Linked DNA regions of Homo sapiens: region 2 is linked to region 1. Evidence: promoter capture Hi-C in 16 types of primary human blood cells and fetal thymus (Javierre and others, 2016). All regions are on one chromosome and are shown on one strand. The core of a region is centred on a gene start or on the middle of the fragment in contact, and the rest is flanking DNA. Distances in the headings are between cores, read along the strand shown. Region 1 holds the start of MRAS (muscle RAS oncogene homolog). Region 2 overlaps DZIP1L (DAZ interacting zinc finger protein 1 like).

Region 1 (3,964 bases), core at 1,332-3,831:
TGAAATATATTATGGAAGCCACATTTCCCTGAGAACTCACTAGATCCAGGAGGCTGGTCAACATGTGATTCTGACTGAGGTTAGGACCAGTCATCCCAGGAGCCTAATTTATCAGAGGCCAATAGTCATTCCTGGTTCCAGGTGATCACTAGAGCTTAGGAACCAAACCAACCCCAAGGGTAACTGACTTGTCACTTTTTTTTTTTTTTTTTTTTTTGAGACAGGGTCTTGCTCTGTCACCCAAGCTGGAGTGCAGTGGCGTGATCATGGCTCACTCCAACCTCTGCCTTCTGGGCTTAAGCAATCCTCCCACCTCAGCCTCCCAAGTAGCTAAGACTACAGGTGCATGCCACCAGGCCCAGCTAATTTTTGTAGAGACGGAGTTTCACCATGTTGCCCTGGCTGGACTTGTCACTTTATAAGTAGCTCAGACGAACTGAGTATGAAATACCAGTGGCTAGAGCTAATAATAACATAAAAGTTAAACCTGTCATAAAGTGTCTTATGTAGGTGAAAACAGAGGTGGAAATTAGCAACTGTCTTATGGAGGAGCGAAGCTGACAACGCTGGAGACAATCGCTTGCTTCACCAAAGGGCCTTGACTACCGCCTACCCCAGTCCCGCCCCCAGCTTTAGGAAATGCCGAGGTCACATCTAGGGGGTCAGTTTCCACCAGAGCACGAGGCTTGCCCAACACCTCCCTCCCCAGAGGCTGGCAGACCTCAAAAACCCCAGAGCATGAAAGCCCCATGCCTCCCACCCCGGCAGAAAAAGGACAAACTACACCATAAACTACAGAGAGAAGCTAACTGGCTGCTGGGCAGTGTGAACAGACCTAAGGGTGAAAACCATTGCCCGAAACATTTTCAGCCCCACTCAGCAGGGACATGTGATTTACAGGAAATTAGGAGGTTTACAAAATGTTAGCAGCTCAAGTTTCTTCCCCGGGAAAAGAAGCAGGAGAAGCTCTAAGAACCGTATCCGAGAAAGTGCTTTGTTCACTGCTAAGCTTCTGACACGAGTCAGTTATTAATACCCACAGCTCACTGCCTCACACTTCAACCCACCAGTGAATGTCTATAGTGAATAATTATAAAACAATATATTACAAAACTCTAACACAGGCTGCACCAGAGCCTTCCGAAGCCCAGGACAGCCACGTGGCCAAAAGCATGGACTTCAGATATGATCTTGGGCAAGCTGTTGGCTCTTTTTCACCCCAGTTCCTCCATCCTTTACAATAAACAAAATCCTTCTGGAGGTGTCTTGTCAAGAGGTGTCTTGTCAAATGATGAGCAAATCCACTTCAAGTGCCTGGTCTTTGGAAGCCCTGTTGGTTGCTGTTATTACAGTGGAGTTTCAGAGCTCTTAAAGTCATATCTCCATCTTACTTCTGCTGCCAGACAAACCTCTGGAGGCCACGATTCCGAGCCTTGTCAGCCACCCTCTCTGGTCAGGTCCAGGACAGAGTGAGTCCTAGAGGAGCAAGGCCAGGGAGGTTCCACACCATCAGGGGCCATTGGGGAGTAGGGGCAATGGCAGAGCTCTATGATCAAGGCCCCAGTGGCCTTGATGGACTCTGTCCACCTCTCCAGACTCCACTTTGCCCCAGGCCAGAACAGACCTCAGCTCTAGCCAGAGTCTAACTGGGTGTCCAGTGTATACGCTGCGGCCAGCCAGACATTAACTCCTCTAGGCGGCCTTCTCTCACCTCCCACTCTGCAGTAGGGACCCCTAGGGGCTCCCACAACCCCTGGGCTTACCGAATCTCAGCACTTACCACACTGGCTTGTCACTTTGTGCTCTTGTCTTCCCCGCAGGGCAGGACTGGCACCGTGTCTGATGCCTCAGCCAGATCAGTTCAATGCATGAGCCCAGGCCCTAGTTGTGACCACAGCTCCAGCTCCCCAAACCTCCGGGGGCAGTGAAGGGTTGTTTATGAAGCAGGCTGCGTTTTATTATTCAGATGAATTTGTCAACTCCCTGGCGGATCCCTCCCCTCGTTAACGCCATCTTAAGGCGGGGGGGTAAAGAGTCCCCCACCCACCCACCCATCCCCCGCCGCCCCGTCCTGCCGCCCATCTATCCACCGGGTTCTCGCCCAGGCAGCCAAGGAACTGTAATTACCATGAAAGGGTCTCTCTGAGCGGCGCGCAGGCCCTCCCCACTGGGGTCTTGGTCGTGGCCGATTTCACGAACGCACACCGTTACGCGGGAGCCCGCGATGGGGGCAAAACGCCACGCACAGCCGGTCCCAGGGCGCACCCCGCAAGCGGAGAGCGCGGCCGAGCCCGGAGGGCGGCCACACCTCCCGCCCCGGAACAAAGCGACGGCCGGGGCGAGAGGCGGCGCGGCCGGGCCCCCTCCCCTCCAAGGCCGCCCGACCACTCACCGCGCGCTCCAGCCCCGGCTCGGCTACGGCACTCAGGCCGCCCCCTCCTAGCCTGCGCCGGTGAGGAGGCAGCGTCGCGCCCGCCGGGCCCCGCGGCCGCCGGACTGACGGCTCCCCGCCAGCCGGCCACTCCGGTCCGTCCCCGCCCCGGCGCCTCCTTAAAGCGACCGCGCCGCCAGCGTGCGCCCCGAGCGCCTAGCGCGCCGCGCATTCCTTATATTGCCACAGCGCCTGCTAAAAATAGAGCGCCGCTGCGGGCGCGCCAGTGGGGAGCCCGGGCCGGGTGCCTCGACCCTGTCGCCCCCGCGTGCACCCCGGCCCCCAGGACGCGCGCCTACGAAGTCCAGCCCACCCGCGCCGAGTCCCCTGGGCCCGGCAGGGCGCGCTAGAGCGCCAGGGGCTGGGGTCGGCGCCGCAGCCTCTCCCGCGGCCCAGCACTTACCCGGGTCAGATCCGTGGTGCCGGGGAGCTGGCTTTAAGGTGGACGCCGAGTGGGAATTCGACTCGGCCTCTTTAAGAGCCTCTGCGCTCCAACCTTTAAATCTCCGCTCCGGCCGGGCCAACTTCTGAGCCTAGGGACGCCTCCCCAGTCCTAGGCGAACCTCCGCCGCCACCTTAGCTGCATTCCCTTCGAATCCTGAGACGTCTTTCTTCCAGATCATGCCCCAGCGTCTCTCCCCGCAGGCCTTCTGGGTGCACCGTTCCAGGGCCCAAACTTCGTTGGGATGGATGCGACGGGGACAGGCGACACTCGCGCACCATTTCATTGTTTCAGTTCCGCTAACTCCTCTCCAGCGGCGTCATTTTCCCCCCGTTAAAAAAATAAAGATATAATTCAACACCATAAAATTCCACCTTTTGAAGTGTACAATTCAAGCCGGGCGCGGTGGCTCACGCCTGTAATCCTAACACTTTGGGAGGCCGAGGCGGGTGAATCGCCTGAGGTCAGGAGTTCAAGACCAGCCTAGGCAACATGGTGAAACCCCGTCTCTACTAAAAATACAAAAGTCAACCCGGCATGGCGGCACGTGCCTGTGATCTCATCTACTCGGGAGGCTGAGGCAGGAGAATCACGTGAACCCGGGAGGCAGAGGTTGTAGTGAGCCGAGATTGCGCTACTGCACTCTAGCCTGGGCAACAGAGTGAGACGCTGTCTCAAAAAAAAAAAAGTGTACGATTCAGTGGTGTTTAGCATATTCACAAAGTTTTGCAACCATCACCATGAGCTAATTCCAGAACATTTTCACCACTTCCCACTCCCCTCCCCTGCCCCTCACAAAAAGAACTACCCGTTAGCAGTCACTCCTCATTCACCCCTTTCCTCCGCCTCTGGGAACCACTAATCTACTTTCAATCTCTATGGATTTCCCTATTCAGGACATTTTCTATAAACGGAATCATACAACATGTGGCCTTTTGTGACTATGACTAGCTTCTTTCAGTAACCAATGTTTAATGATCTATTCATGTTGTAACATGTAGCAGTACTTCATTCCTTTTCATGACTGAGTAATATTTCACTGTATGTCTATACGTTTTGTTTATCCCTGCATCACTTGATGGATATTTAGT
Region 2 (3,618 bases), core at 865-3,364, 280 kb after region 1:
TACTCCTGCTCGCTTTTGGTATCCATTTGCATGGAATGTTTTTTTTCCGCCCCTTTACCTTAAGTTTGTGTGAGTCCTAATGTGAGTTTAGGTGAGTCTTCTGAAGACAGCAGAAACTTGGTTGGTGAATTCATATCCATTCTGCCATTCTGTATCTTTTAAGTGGAATATTTAGGCCATTTACATTCAATGTTAGTATTGAGAGGTGAGGTACTATTCTATTCATTGTGCTATTTGTTGCCTGAATACCTTGCCTTTTTTTTTTTTCGTGTATTATTGTTGTATAGGTCCTATGAGATTTATGCTTTAAGGAGGTTCTGTTTTGTTGTATTTCATGGATTTGTTTCTGTATACATGTGTAACAAACCTGCATGTTGTGCACATGTACCCTAAAACTTAAAGTATAATAAAAAAATAAATTAAAAAAGAAGATTTAGAGATCCTTTTAGCAGTTCTTGTAGTGCTGGCTTGGTAGTGGCGGATTCTCTCAGCATTTGTTTGTCTGGAAAAGACTGTATCTTTCTTTCATTTATGAAGCTTAGTTTCACTGGATACAAAATTCTTGGCTGATAATTGTTTTGTTTAAGGAAGCTAAAGAATAGGACCCCAATCCCTTCTAGCTTGTAGGGTTTCTGCTGAGAAATCTGCTGTTAATCTGAGAGGTGTTCCTTTATAGGTTACCTGGTGCTTTTGCCTCACAGCTCTTATGATTCTTTCCTTCATCTTGACTTTAGATAACCGGTTGACTATGTGCTTAGGTGATGATCTTTTTGCAATGAATTTCTCAGGTGTTCTTTGAGCTTCTTGTATTTGGATGCCTAGGTCTCTAGTAAGGCTGGGGAAGTTTTCCTCAATTATTCCCTCGAAGATGTTTTCAAGCTTTTAGATTTCTCTTCTTCCTTGGGAATAACAATTATTCTTAGGTTTGGATGTTTAACATGGTCCCAAGCTTCTTGGAGACTTTGTTCATTTTTTTAAAATTCTTTTTTGTCTTCTATGGATTGTGTTAATTCGAAAGCCTTGTCTTTGAGCTCTGAAGTTCTTTCTTCTGCTTGTTTGATTCTATTGCTGAGACTTTTCAGTGTATTTTGCATTTCTCTAAGTGTGTTTTTGATTTCCAGAAGTTGTGATAACTTTTTATTTATGCTATTTCACTAAAAAATTTTCCTTTCATCTCTTGTATAACATTTTTTGTTTCTTTAAGGTGGGCTTCACCTTTCTTTGGTCCCTCCTTGATTAGCTTAATAATTGACCTTCTGAATTCTTTTTCTGGCAATTCAGAGATTCGTCTTGGTTTGGATCCATTGCTGGTGAGCTGGTATGATTTTTGTGGGTGTTAAAGAACCTTGTCTTGTCATATTACCAGAATTGTTTTTCTGGCTCCTTCTCATTTGGGTAGACTATGTTAGAGGGAAGATCTGGGATTCAAGAGCTGCTGTTCAGATGCTTCTGTCCCATGGGGTGCTCCCTTGATGTAGTGCTCTCCCCCTTCCCCTAGGAATGGGGCTTCCTGAGAGCTGAACTGTAGTGATTGTTTTTGATCTTCTGGGTCTAGCCACCCAGTAGAGTTACAGGCTGGTACTGGGGAGTGTCTGCAAAGAGTCCTGTGATGTGATCCATCTTCAGGTCTTGCAGCCGTGGATACTATTCCAGCACCTGCTCCAGTGGAGGTAGTAGGGGAGTGAAGTGGACTCTTGAGGGTCCTTGTTTTTTCTTTTTGTTTGTTTAGTGCATTGGTTTTGTGTTTGTTGGCCTCCAGCTAGGAGGTGGTGCTTTCAAACTGTGGTCCTATAGGGAGGATGCATACTTCCCTACTTGCCCTAGGGACACCTGGTTAAGTATTCAGGTTTCTCAGGCGGTGGGCAGGGCCATACAGCTCCTAAGGGATTATGACCTTTGTCTTCAGCTACCAGGGCGGGTGCAGGAAGACCACCAGGTGGGGCCAGGGATAGACGTGTCTGAGCTCAGCCTCTCCTTGGGTGTGGCTTGCTGCAGCTACTGTTGGGGATGAGGGTGTGTTCCCAGTCCAATGGAGTTATATTCCCAGGGGGATTATGGCTGCCTCTGCTGAGTCATACAGGTCGCCAGGGAAGTGGGGGAAATCTGGCAGTCACAGGCCTCAGCCCATCTCCACGCAGCCTGCGGTCCTAAAGTCCGGTCTCACTCGCACTGTGCCCCACCAACAGGAGCAAGTCTATTTCCAAGCAGCCAGTGACCAGGGCTGGGAACTTGCCCCAGACCACAAACCTCCCCATTGAGAAAGCAAGCAGACTCAGGTTTTCGGCATCTCAGGGAGTCTGCAGCAGTGATCCAGTTCCTTTACAGGGTCTATGGATTCTCTCTCCAACTAGTATTTGAATGCCATTGTGCTTAACCAGAACACGTATGTTATTATTAGAAGCACCAATGAAATCTATTATTAAATAAAAACACACCTATTATTAAATTAGCCAAGCATTACACTATTGGAATGCTGTTTGTGTAGAGTAAGTTAGAAAAAAAAAATAGACAACTAGGGTTATTTTAGGAAGAATGGTCACTACTTTGATTGTTTTCAACTACTGACTACTCTAACTTTGGCCCTATATTCAGATTTGATTAAGACATTCCTTTCTAACCTTGCATGAATCCTCATCTTGGATTCAGATGCCTCCCTGGACCCTCCCATGGGCTCTGGGTGGATGTCAAAAGCTCGAGCAACTTCCAATAGGTCTTGAAAGGGTACTTGGATTGTGTTTACAGCAGTTTAGTTTTTTAAACATTGTTAGCCATGGACAGTGTGTTTGGCATAATAATAGTAATTGGGAGTACAAAAATGAGCAAGCTGTGGTCTCTTATCCTAGGATTCAGTCAGATGGTAGAAAAGCATGTTCCAACGAAGTCCCTTATGCTATGATGTGGTCAGAATTGTGACGCAGTCCTTTGCATTATCCTGCTGTGCACATTTTGATGGGGCTCCCAAACCCTGAACCATTGCACTTTCAGCAACTTTGAAGCCGCTGCTTACCCTTCTCTGATCCTCATTTCATGCCCCCCAGTCCTGCAAGAAAAGCACCAGGCACTGATCACAGACTCCCAGGCCAGCAGCAGCAGGTGTGAGAGGCTTAGGGGAAGGAGAAGAAGGGTAGCCTCTCTCTGTAAAGGTGAACTCCTGTCTCCTCTAGGATGCAAAGGGAATCTCGATTCAGACTCTCAGACACCTGGAATCCCTGCTGAGAGTCCAGCGGGAGCAGAAGGCCCGGAAGTTTTCTGAATTTCTGAGTCTGAGGGGAAAGCTTGTCAAGGAAGTCACCAGCAGAGCGAAGGAGAGACAGGAGAATGGCGCTGTGGTGTCCCAGCCAGACGGGCAGCCTTCAGGTACACTGGGGAGAGGGCTTGCTCAGGGCTGTGACCTGTAAGGGTCCCATTCTTGCCAAAACTTGTTTGCACATGAGGAGGGTATAGTCTCTGTCCCCCATTAGGGGCACTTCTCTGAAGGGCTGAGCTGGTAGGGTCCTTACAGGGGACTGAGTCCAGAAGTTCTCTGTTGAGGAAATAGGATCTGGGGTGGAGTGGGGGCATTTGTCCAGGGTCACTCGGGGAAGTTGGAGGAGAGCCGGAGCTGGAGCCTGTTGTCAG

Evidence for each region. Contacts are between HindIII fragments. The CHiCAGO score rates a contact against its expected background, and 5 or more counts as called.
Region 2: a fragment that was not itself captured here is called in contact with the fragment with the promoter of MRAS in region 1 in 1 of 17 cell types (monocytes); the score reaches 5.4 in monocytes.

The regions. Positions count from the first base shown.
Region 1 is chr3:138,347,196-138,351,159 of GRCh38, reverse strand. It overlaps MRAS (muscle RAS oncogene homolog), which reads right to left and starts at 2,581. Exons shown (of 6, transcript NM_001085049.3): 1 at 2,393-2,581. RefSeq lists an enhancer at 2,114-3,069. The HindIII fragment of the contact is 4,446 bases long and covers 1,012-3,964 here.
Region 2 is chr3:138,071,382-138,074,999 of GRCh38, reverse strand. It overlaps DZIP1L (DAZ interacting zinc finger protein 1 like), which reads left to right. Exons shown (of 16, transcript NM_173543.3): 12 at 3,165-3,357. Among named protein-coding and RNA genes, the nearest start is that of DZIP1L, 42 kb to the left of the region's middle. The HindIII fragment of the contact is 2,326 bases long and covers 952-3,277 here.